Linked DNA regions of Homo sapiens: region 2 is linked to region 1. The links are contacts of gene promoters, found by promoter capture Hi-C in blood cells and fetal thymus (Javierre and others, 2016). All regions are on one chromosome and are shown on one strand. The core of a region is centred on a gene start or on the middle of the fragment in contact, and the rest is flanking DNA. Distances in the headings are between cores, read along the strand shown.

The links. Contacts are between HindIII fragments. The CHiCAGO score rates a contact against its expected background, and 5 or more counts as called.
Region 2: the fragment with the promoter of C5orf34 here is called in contact with the fragment with the promoter of ANXA2R in region 1 in 2 of 17 cell types (neutrophils and M2 macrophages); the score reaches 6.3 in neutrophils.

Annotation. Positions count from the first base shown.
Region 1 is chr5:43,038,514-43,042,450 of GRCh38, forward strand. It overlaps ANXA2R (annexin A2 receptor), which reads right to left and starts at 1,806. Exons shown (of 1, transcript NM_001014279.3): 1 at 858-1,806. The coding sequence starts at 1,533. The coding sequence ends at 952. All of the region lies in intron 2 of ANXA2R-OT1 (ANXA2R overlapping transcript 1), which reads right to left. It overlaps ANXA2R-AS1 (ANXA2R antisense RNA 1), which reads left to right and starts at 3,621. Exons shown (of 2, transcript NR_015447.1): 1 at 3,621-3,937. RefSeq lists enhancers at 688-1,228, 920-969, 990-1,399, 1,410-1,459, 3,115-3,194 and 1 more and a silencer at 1,800-2,069. The HindIII fragment of the contact is 14,499 bases long and covers 1-3,937 here.
Region 2 is chr5:43,513,207-43,517,097 of GRCh38, forward strand. It overlaps C5orf34 (chromosome 5 open reading frame 34), which reads right to left and starts at 1,942. Exons shown (of 13, transcript NM_198566.4): 1 at 1,600-1,942. It overlaps LOC124900190 (a long non-coding RNA gene), which reads left to right. Exons shown (of 3, transcript XR_007058764.1): 2 at 987-3,891. RefSeq lists an enhancer at 1,550-1,709. The HindIII fragment of the contact is 8,167 bases long and covers 1-3,891 here.

The DNA.
Region 1 (3,937 bases), core at 556-3,055:
GAAACACTGCTAGCCCTGAGACCCATGAATAAGTAGTCTTTTCAATTATTTATTTATTTTGAGACAGGCTCTCGCTCTGCTGGAGGGCGTTGGTGCTATCCGGCTCACCGCAGCCTCGACCTCCTGAGCTCAAGCAACCCGCCCACCCCAGCCTCCGGAGCAGCTGGGACTACAGGTGCACACCATCTCACAGGGCTAACTTTTGCATTTTTTGTAGACACAGGCCTCACCCTGTCGCCCAGGCTTTTCTCAAACTCCTGAGCTCAAGCAATCCGCATGCCTCCGCTGCTGAAAGTGCTGGGATTACTGCCGTGAGCCACGCTGCCCCGCCAGAATAAGTAATCTTAAGAACTGGTCATCTGTGAAGTTGTATTAATATAAGTAATTGCGTGGTCCTTCCACGAGAAATAGCAAAGATTGATAAACCTCTCAGTCTTATGATCGTGAATAAAATTCCTGAGTGTAAAACAATGAATCGATATACTGAAAAAAAGAAAGACCGCTGTTAAAAATAAAATTAACAATTAAAATTAAAAAGACGTTATAATAACGTAAAAGACATGATATAAAATTAAATGTAAACAAACAATACATTTAAAAAGCAATAATTAGAAAAATAGTAGGAATAAGATTTTAAAATACAATGGAAAAAAACAAATTTTAAATTTGCCAAAAACTCTAAGAATTCTACAATCGTAAAATAGATTTCTCAAAGTGAAAACAGATACGAATGAAATATTTAATGAAATAAATACAAATATTTAAAATACAAGGAAACTGAAAGTAATAAGCGACGCGAAACAAGAAAGAAACATAAGGGAAAAAGAGAATTTAAAAACTGACAACCAGCAATGAAAGCACATCTTAATGTATTTTTATTTTCTAGGTGGAGACGTTTGGTAACTGAGAATCTTTTCAAGGAGGAGAATCCAAAAAGCCTTCTGCTGCTATCTAAGGCTGCTTAGCTCCACAGATCCGTGAACAGCACGCCCAGAGTACAGAGAACGCGGCAAAACCAACGCGAAGAATCCACTCCAGGCAGTCTGAGAAACCCGGGAGGTGGCGCCACGGCTGGAGGGCAGGAGGATGGCGGCGTTCCAAAAGGCACCCGCTGTCACAGACCTCGGTGTCCTGCTGTCTGTCCCAGGGATGGAGAGGACTGCTCCAGGGAAGCTGCTGGAGCCTGAGTCTGTCGGGTTCCTCTGCCTGCCCCACCTCTTCTACGGGTGCCTCTTGCTGCTTCTGTGTCCCCGGCCAACTGAACTCAGTGGGCTTCGCTGTACTTGGTTCCAAGGTGCTCTGGACTCCAGGAGAGAGTCCGTTTTGCCAGTAGACTCCGGGCAGCCGCCAGCAAGGGCTGGAAAGCAGTCCCAAATCACAGCTGTCCAGTGAGTACTCTCCTAGTACTGGATACAAAGGAAGAGGCCACGGCCCACGATCTTCTGAACTCACAATAGGTGGAGGCTGGGGCTCTGGCGCCACCTCTGCGGAATCCCAAGCCCGCTTCACACAGCCAAGAAAATGTTGCTCCATCCCTCAAGCCTCAGACCAACGTTTGCGCTGATCAAGGAGGGAGAGTCTCTGCACTACCATCAGCCTGAGTATTTATGCTCTGCAGAGCCCGTGGGCGGAGGCCAGTCAGATATTAAGAAACTCAGTAGTAACAAATGCACGAAAATTAGTAGACAAATGAAAAACGATAACATTTTAGAGAGTACATAGAACCAAAACGAACCGTAATTCCGACAGAAAAACATGGCGAGAAAAGAAACCGAAATGAAATGACACTAAGCAAATCTTGAAGAGAACTAGCGCTACAGAACGCAGGTATTCAAGAGCGCGCAAGGGCCAAGAACCACCCGTTTCCGGGAAATGAGCGTTGCTGCCACCGGAAAACTGTCTGCTAGGGCTCTGCCCTAACCACCTTGCAAACGAGAAACTGGCGCGTTGAACTTAGCAAGCGCCGGCACCTAGCGGATAGCGCTGGTATTGCCAAACAAATATCCGTTTTGGCGCCGTAAAGGGTGCTGCTAAAGAGAAACAGCATGCTCTTAGAACTAAGAGCGGTGCTTCCACACCTAAACAACCTGTTTGGAGGAATGAACCAACTCTGTTTCAATGTGTTGTACCAGAAAAATGTGTTGCGGCATTTAATGTGTTTTAATCCGTTCAATGTGTTTGATAGGTTTAATATGTTTTAACCCGTTTTAATGGGTTGTGACAGAAAAAGCGCCGGCTAATGGTACCACACAATTACTAGTGCGAACAGCGGCTCGGTGCAATCACCGTTCTGCACGGCAAAACGGGGTTCAGGAAGTTCCTAGGAGATACTAGCGGTTGTAGGAGCGAAAAAGTGACAGCACTGAGAACCTAAGGACCCCGCGAACGGGAAATGTCACGTTGGGTGCAGCAACTGAGAAAACGCCCAGTGGGCGCCACTGGCAAACGTGCTGATACAAAACCGCCAGCTCTGCATAGGAAGCGGAGCCTCCAGACAGAACCCGGAACCTGATACCAGCGAGGCTAAGACCGAGCTCGGCTCCCCGGCTCCTGAGAGAATGAAAGTCAAGAAGCACGAATCTGAGACGCTCAAAATTAGAAGAAAAAAAAAATACATAATTTAAAATAATGAAAGTCTGAAATGCAAGTAAAAATGAAAAACACATCGGTAACATTGTCCTCAGAGCAAGACACAAAAATAATTTTAAGGTAAGCAAAAGTTACAGAGAACCAACCCTACAAAGAAGAAATTACAAATATGGCTAAGCGATGCAATGCCTACCATTAGAATATTTCTGTCAGATCTAAACCCCTGCAGGTTGCTCCTGTCATAATTTCCTACGAGAAAAAAAACAAAAATATCCACGGTTAAACGTGTTTAGCTACGTCTAAAAAATCGTAGTAGCTGGTACATCCCGATTTGGTCTACAAGAGGAAAAAGTCTCGATGGGCAGGACTTGCTATTGTCAAAGGGAGCTTGGTAAAACTGAGACATCGCGATCGCCGGCATTTCCTGACTTCCACGGGAGTTTTAAAAACACACAAGCATAGCTAAGACAGGACTCGATATTGCGAAACCAAACTTGGTATAAGAGCTCCCAACACTGCTAAACTGGTCATCGCTAAACCTTTAAAAAAAAAAAAAAAGCATTCGCTGGTACCCAGATTTCCACAGGAGTTAAACATTTCCTGCGCAGCTAAAGCAAGTCTTACCAGTAGGAAACCGGAACTTGCTAGGACTAAGAAACTTGAGGCTAGGCTGACCCCATGGTTGTTATGATTAGAAATCCGAGGCCACTGGAAACCCGGAGCTGCTGACCAACGAGTCACAGGGTAACTTCGCCTTCGCATGGGGAAACGGGTGAGTTCCTACGGCCTAGATATCGCAGCCAGGGCTAGACCGGTGTTTGTCTTAAGTCAGGACTTGCTTGGGCTGAGAAAATACATTTTGGCTATTCCCCTACTTGGACAGAGGGTGGAAATCCCAGGCACCGCGAAATCGAAACTTGCTAGGACTAAGAAGCCAACGACGCGCGAAACCGTGGGGTCCTGCGACAGAGACGCCGGCGGCGCCGCCACAGGACTGCGTTCTGGAGGCCGAGCCGGAACCCGTGCGGCGGCGCTGGGAAGAGACTGTGCCCCTGCAGCTCCCCTGTCACCGGCTCCAAGGAGCGTCGGGCTCCCCCCGCCCAGCCCTGCAGCACCCATCCGGCAACGCCAGACTCGGCGCAACGGGGGCAGCTGCGACTTTAAATCTCTCAGATCCGCGGCCTGAGGGCTGCCGCCACCGAGAAATGGAGGCACAGAGCTGTGAACAAGAGACCACGGCTCGCCGAAATGGCGGTGCCAGGAGCCTGAAAGGGAATGCAGCCGGCGGGGTTGTCAAGGACAACATTTGTTTTGGCGCAACCAGCGGTGCCGTCACCAAGAAACCGTC
Region 2 (3,891 bases), core at 692-3,191, 470 kb after region 1:
GAGATTCACACACTTTTAATTATTTTCTTTCTCTAGAGAACTAAATGTACCTGACCTCTCACAGAGCTTTCAGGTGGCTGCCTGCTAGACCGCTCTCTATGTCCCTGTCCCATAGATAAATCAAACTCAACATAACTAAAATGGAACTTAATCACTCCTACCAAAAGCAGGCTTCTGTAATACCCCCTAATTGCACTTTCACTCTCATCTCTTCCCTCAAATCCAGTCTGCATACAGTAGTGCCCAGAGGGATCTTTTAAAATGAAAATCACATCTATCACTTCGTGGCTTAAAACCCACCAGTACCTTCCATTTCTACTTAAAATCCAAACTCCTAAACTATGGCCTACAAAGGCCACACAGTCTGGTCCTATCTACCTCTCCCAATGTCATTTCTCAACTCTCTCCTACTTCTACAGGGCACTTTAGATACATTGGCATTTTAAATGTTCTTTAAACAAGCTCTTTCCCATCTTTGCAGTTCTTTCTGCCTGCCTTGTCTTTTCCTTGGCTAATCACAAGGCTGGTTCTTTATCATCATCAAGGTTTCAGCACAAATGTAACTCCTACAAGGGCCCAACGACCAACTAAGTTAAAGTTACTCCCAAACATCTCCCAATCATTTGTCATCCCTCTTCAAGTTTTTTCTTCATAGAATCTATCATCAAAATTGATTATTTACTTGCTTTTTATTTTCTCCCACTAGGATATAAAGTCAACCGAAGCAGGGGCCTTATCTGTCTTATATGTAACAGTATCTCTGGCATCTAAAACAGTATTAGGCAAATAGTAAATGGCACAATAAATATTTGAATGATGAAAAATAAGTAAACTGCTCCTCTTGAATTTGCAATTTGAATTAATGGTGTCTCATTGTTAGCAGCCAATATTCTAAAACTTGACTTTCCACTCCATGCCCCTGTAACAAGTCCTGTTGATTTTCTGTCTTTGGAACCTGACTCTCTCTACCTCTTTCTCTTTTTCAGGCCATAGACTCTCCAACTCCTGCAACTGTCTGGAATTTCTTCTCTCTCCAATCCATCTCTAGTATTGATGACATAGGTAACTTTCCACAAGTCACACCATACCAAGTGCTTTACATCACCTGTTTACGTACTTATCAAATGGCAATATAGATTACAGATATATATATAAACACACACGTATATATCGGGTATGTCTACTTGGTATTTTAGGGGAAAAAACGGGTGCTGATACATAGATGGAAGACATTTTCTGATTCCAATTTGGGAAAAATAGTCTATCTTTGGTCAGGTCTTTTTTTTAATAGCTTTACTGAGGCGGTTTTCTAATTTTAAATAATCAAGCATACACAACAAACAGTGTAATGACTAAGGTTCTTGGCATACCATAGGAAACCATAACCCGGCTCCAACCCACACTGCCATTCTCATCTCTACAGTCTCATTCCCGCTTGCGTTCTCATCACCCAGCACATTACGTCAGGGTATGTTTAACACTCAAAAATCCACAAGTCTGTTCTTGACATGAATGAGAATCTCATTTCTTTCAAAATGCTATAGTCTCTAGTTACAGAAGGAGCCTGATCAAAACAACCACCAAAAGTCTTCCACTCACAGCAGTTCGGAGCCGAAAAGTTGCGGAAATGAGGCCCAGCAACGGTCCCTGGCTTTGATTTGCCAAAATGCTCTGGAAGCCGCAGCGTCGGCGCCTGCCCACCACTGCTTCTTCAGGGGTTTCTTCAGTTTGACAAATTACCAGCGAGTGATATTTCTTGGTGAAAGAAAAAAATCACAACCCTAGAGGAATAAGGTGGCAGGGAGAGTGTTTTGGCCAAGATGCCCGCCACGAAACAGGAAAGCGGAGACAGCGCCAACTGTAACCACTAAGAGAAAGCGCAAACCGCACAAGACCAGTTCAAAACCAGCGCCCTCAGGGAGCCGCTTCAGAGCTCCGCAACAGGGAAGACAGGAAGTCCCGCCCCTCCACAACAGGAAGGGCCGGAAGTCCCGCCCCTCCACTCCGGAGGCTGCCCTCGCTGCGTTCCCTACGAAGGGCGGAGCAGGAATTGGTGTAGGAAGGGGACGGGTGTTTCCTTGTTCGGAATGGGGTTGGCTCCTCTTTGATTTTTTACTTCTGGTGACCCACGCAAAAGCAGTCCCGACCTGGTTGTATTAATAATAAAGGCTGTAAGGATCAGCCTTTTGAACGGTCCAGCCGAGAACTAACCACAGAGCGCGTTTTAGTGGAGTGGTACTTATTTTTAAATAAGGTAAAAAACGATTATACTTCAGTAAAGCTGTTTAGAAAAAAAAAAACTTGGCCAAAGATGGAGAACTCTTCCTAATTTGGTATCAGAAAATAGGTCGTCTATGTATCTGCACCTTTTTTCCTTATAAAGTGGCAAATAAATGTGTCTGCTATATTTATTGCCACTAAACAAGTGTTTATGGAACACTCACTGTGTGTTTAGGCATAGTGGGGATAAAGCAGGGAAGGTGGCCCAGTTCTTTGCGGGTGAGGATCAGAGCTAGAGATTAACTGGAAAGAAAGAATAAACAATCATTTATTACAGTTGTGAGTGTTTCTAAGATAAAATACAGAGGTTTGTGAGAGCATAGAGAGGCATACCTTGTTTTATTGTGCATTTTATTGTGCTTTGCAGATACTGAGTTTACTACAAATGGAAGGTTTGAGGCAACCTTGATGGAGCAAGTGTATGGGTGCCATGTTTTTCCAACATCATGTGCTCACTTTGTGTCTCTGACATATTTTGGTAATTCCCACAATATTTCAAACTTTTTCATTATTTTTGTATCTGTTAGAGTGATCTGTGTGATCACTGATCTTTGATGTCACTACTGTAATTGTTTTGGGGGACCACAGATCATGCTCATACATTATAAAATGGCGAACTGAATCTGTTACAGGTAGTTAGGCATGAGCAAGGCAGGAGAGGGCTCTCCCCTGCCACCCACCCACTAGAAATGTTGGGTGATGGTTCAGCAATTATCACATGGCCTCTCTAAAAATGAAAATTTGGCAGCGCCAGGGAAAGGCCATTTCCTGATGGCCCACACCTGTTAACATCAAAATGTTAATTGAATGCAGGCCCCAGAGAGAAGCAACTTCCTGGGCATGCCGGTTAAGAGACAAAAGTGATGAAGTATGATTTTTCTGATACACTCCACCGGAAAAAGGAAGAAAGCCTCAGATGGGCATGTGTATAAATCCATAAAATCACTGTGTGTGCTCACTTCCCAAGGGTAAAGAGGGCTCTGAGCATGCAGGGAGCCCATCCTAAGATCATGGTTAAATGCGGCACTTGACCTTCTCTCTCTCTCTCTCCTTTTCTTTTTCTTTTTTTTTTGAGACGGAGTCTCACTCTGTCGCCCAGGCTGCAGTGCAGTGGCGCGATTTCAGCTCACTGCAATCTCCGCCTCCCGGGTTCAAGCAATTCTCTGCCTCAGCCCCCTCCCCGAGTAGCTGGGATTACAGGCGCCCACCACCATACCCGGCTAATTTTTTTGTATTTTTAGTAGAGACAGGGTTTCACCATCTTGGCCAGGCTGGTCTTGAACTCCTGACCTCATGATCCACCTGCTTCAGCCTCCCAAAGTTCTGGGATTATAGGCGTGAGCCACTGCACCCGGCTGGCCTTCTCTCTTTAACCTTCACATGCCCACTTGGGTCTCTTCCATGCGTACCTTCCTTTCTTTCCTGTTCTAATGCCTGTTTAAATAAACCTCCATTCCTACTCTGGAACTTGCTTCAGTCTCTTTTCTGCTTTATGTCTGTCAGTCAAATTCTTTCTTCTCTGAGGAGGCCAGGACTGAAGTTGCTATGGACCTGCAAGGATAGGCTGCTGGTAACTTGGGGTAACTCAGATCTCTTCCACTAGTAACAAGT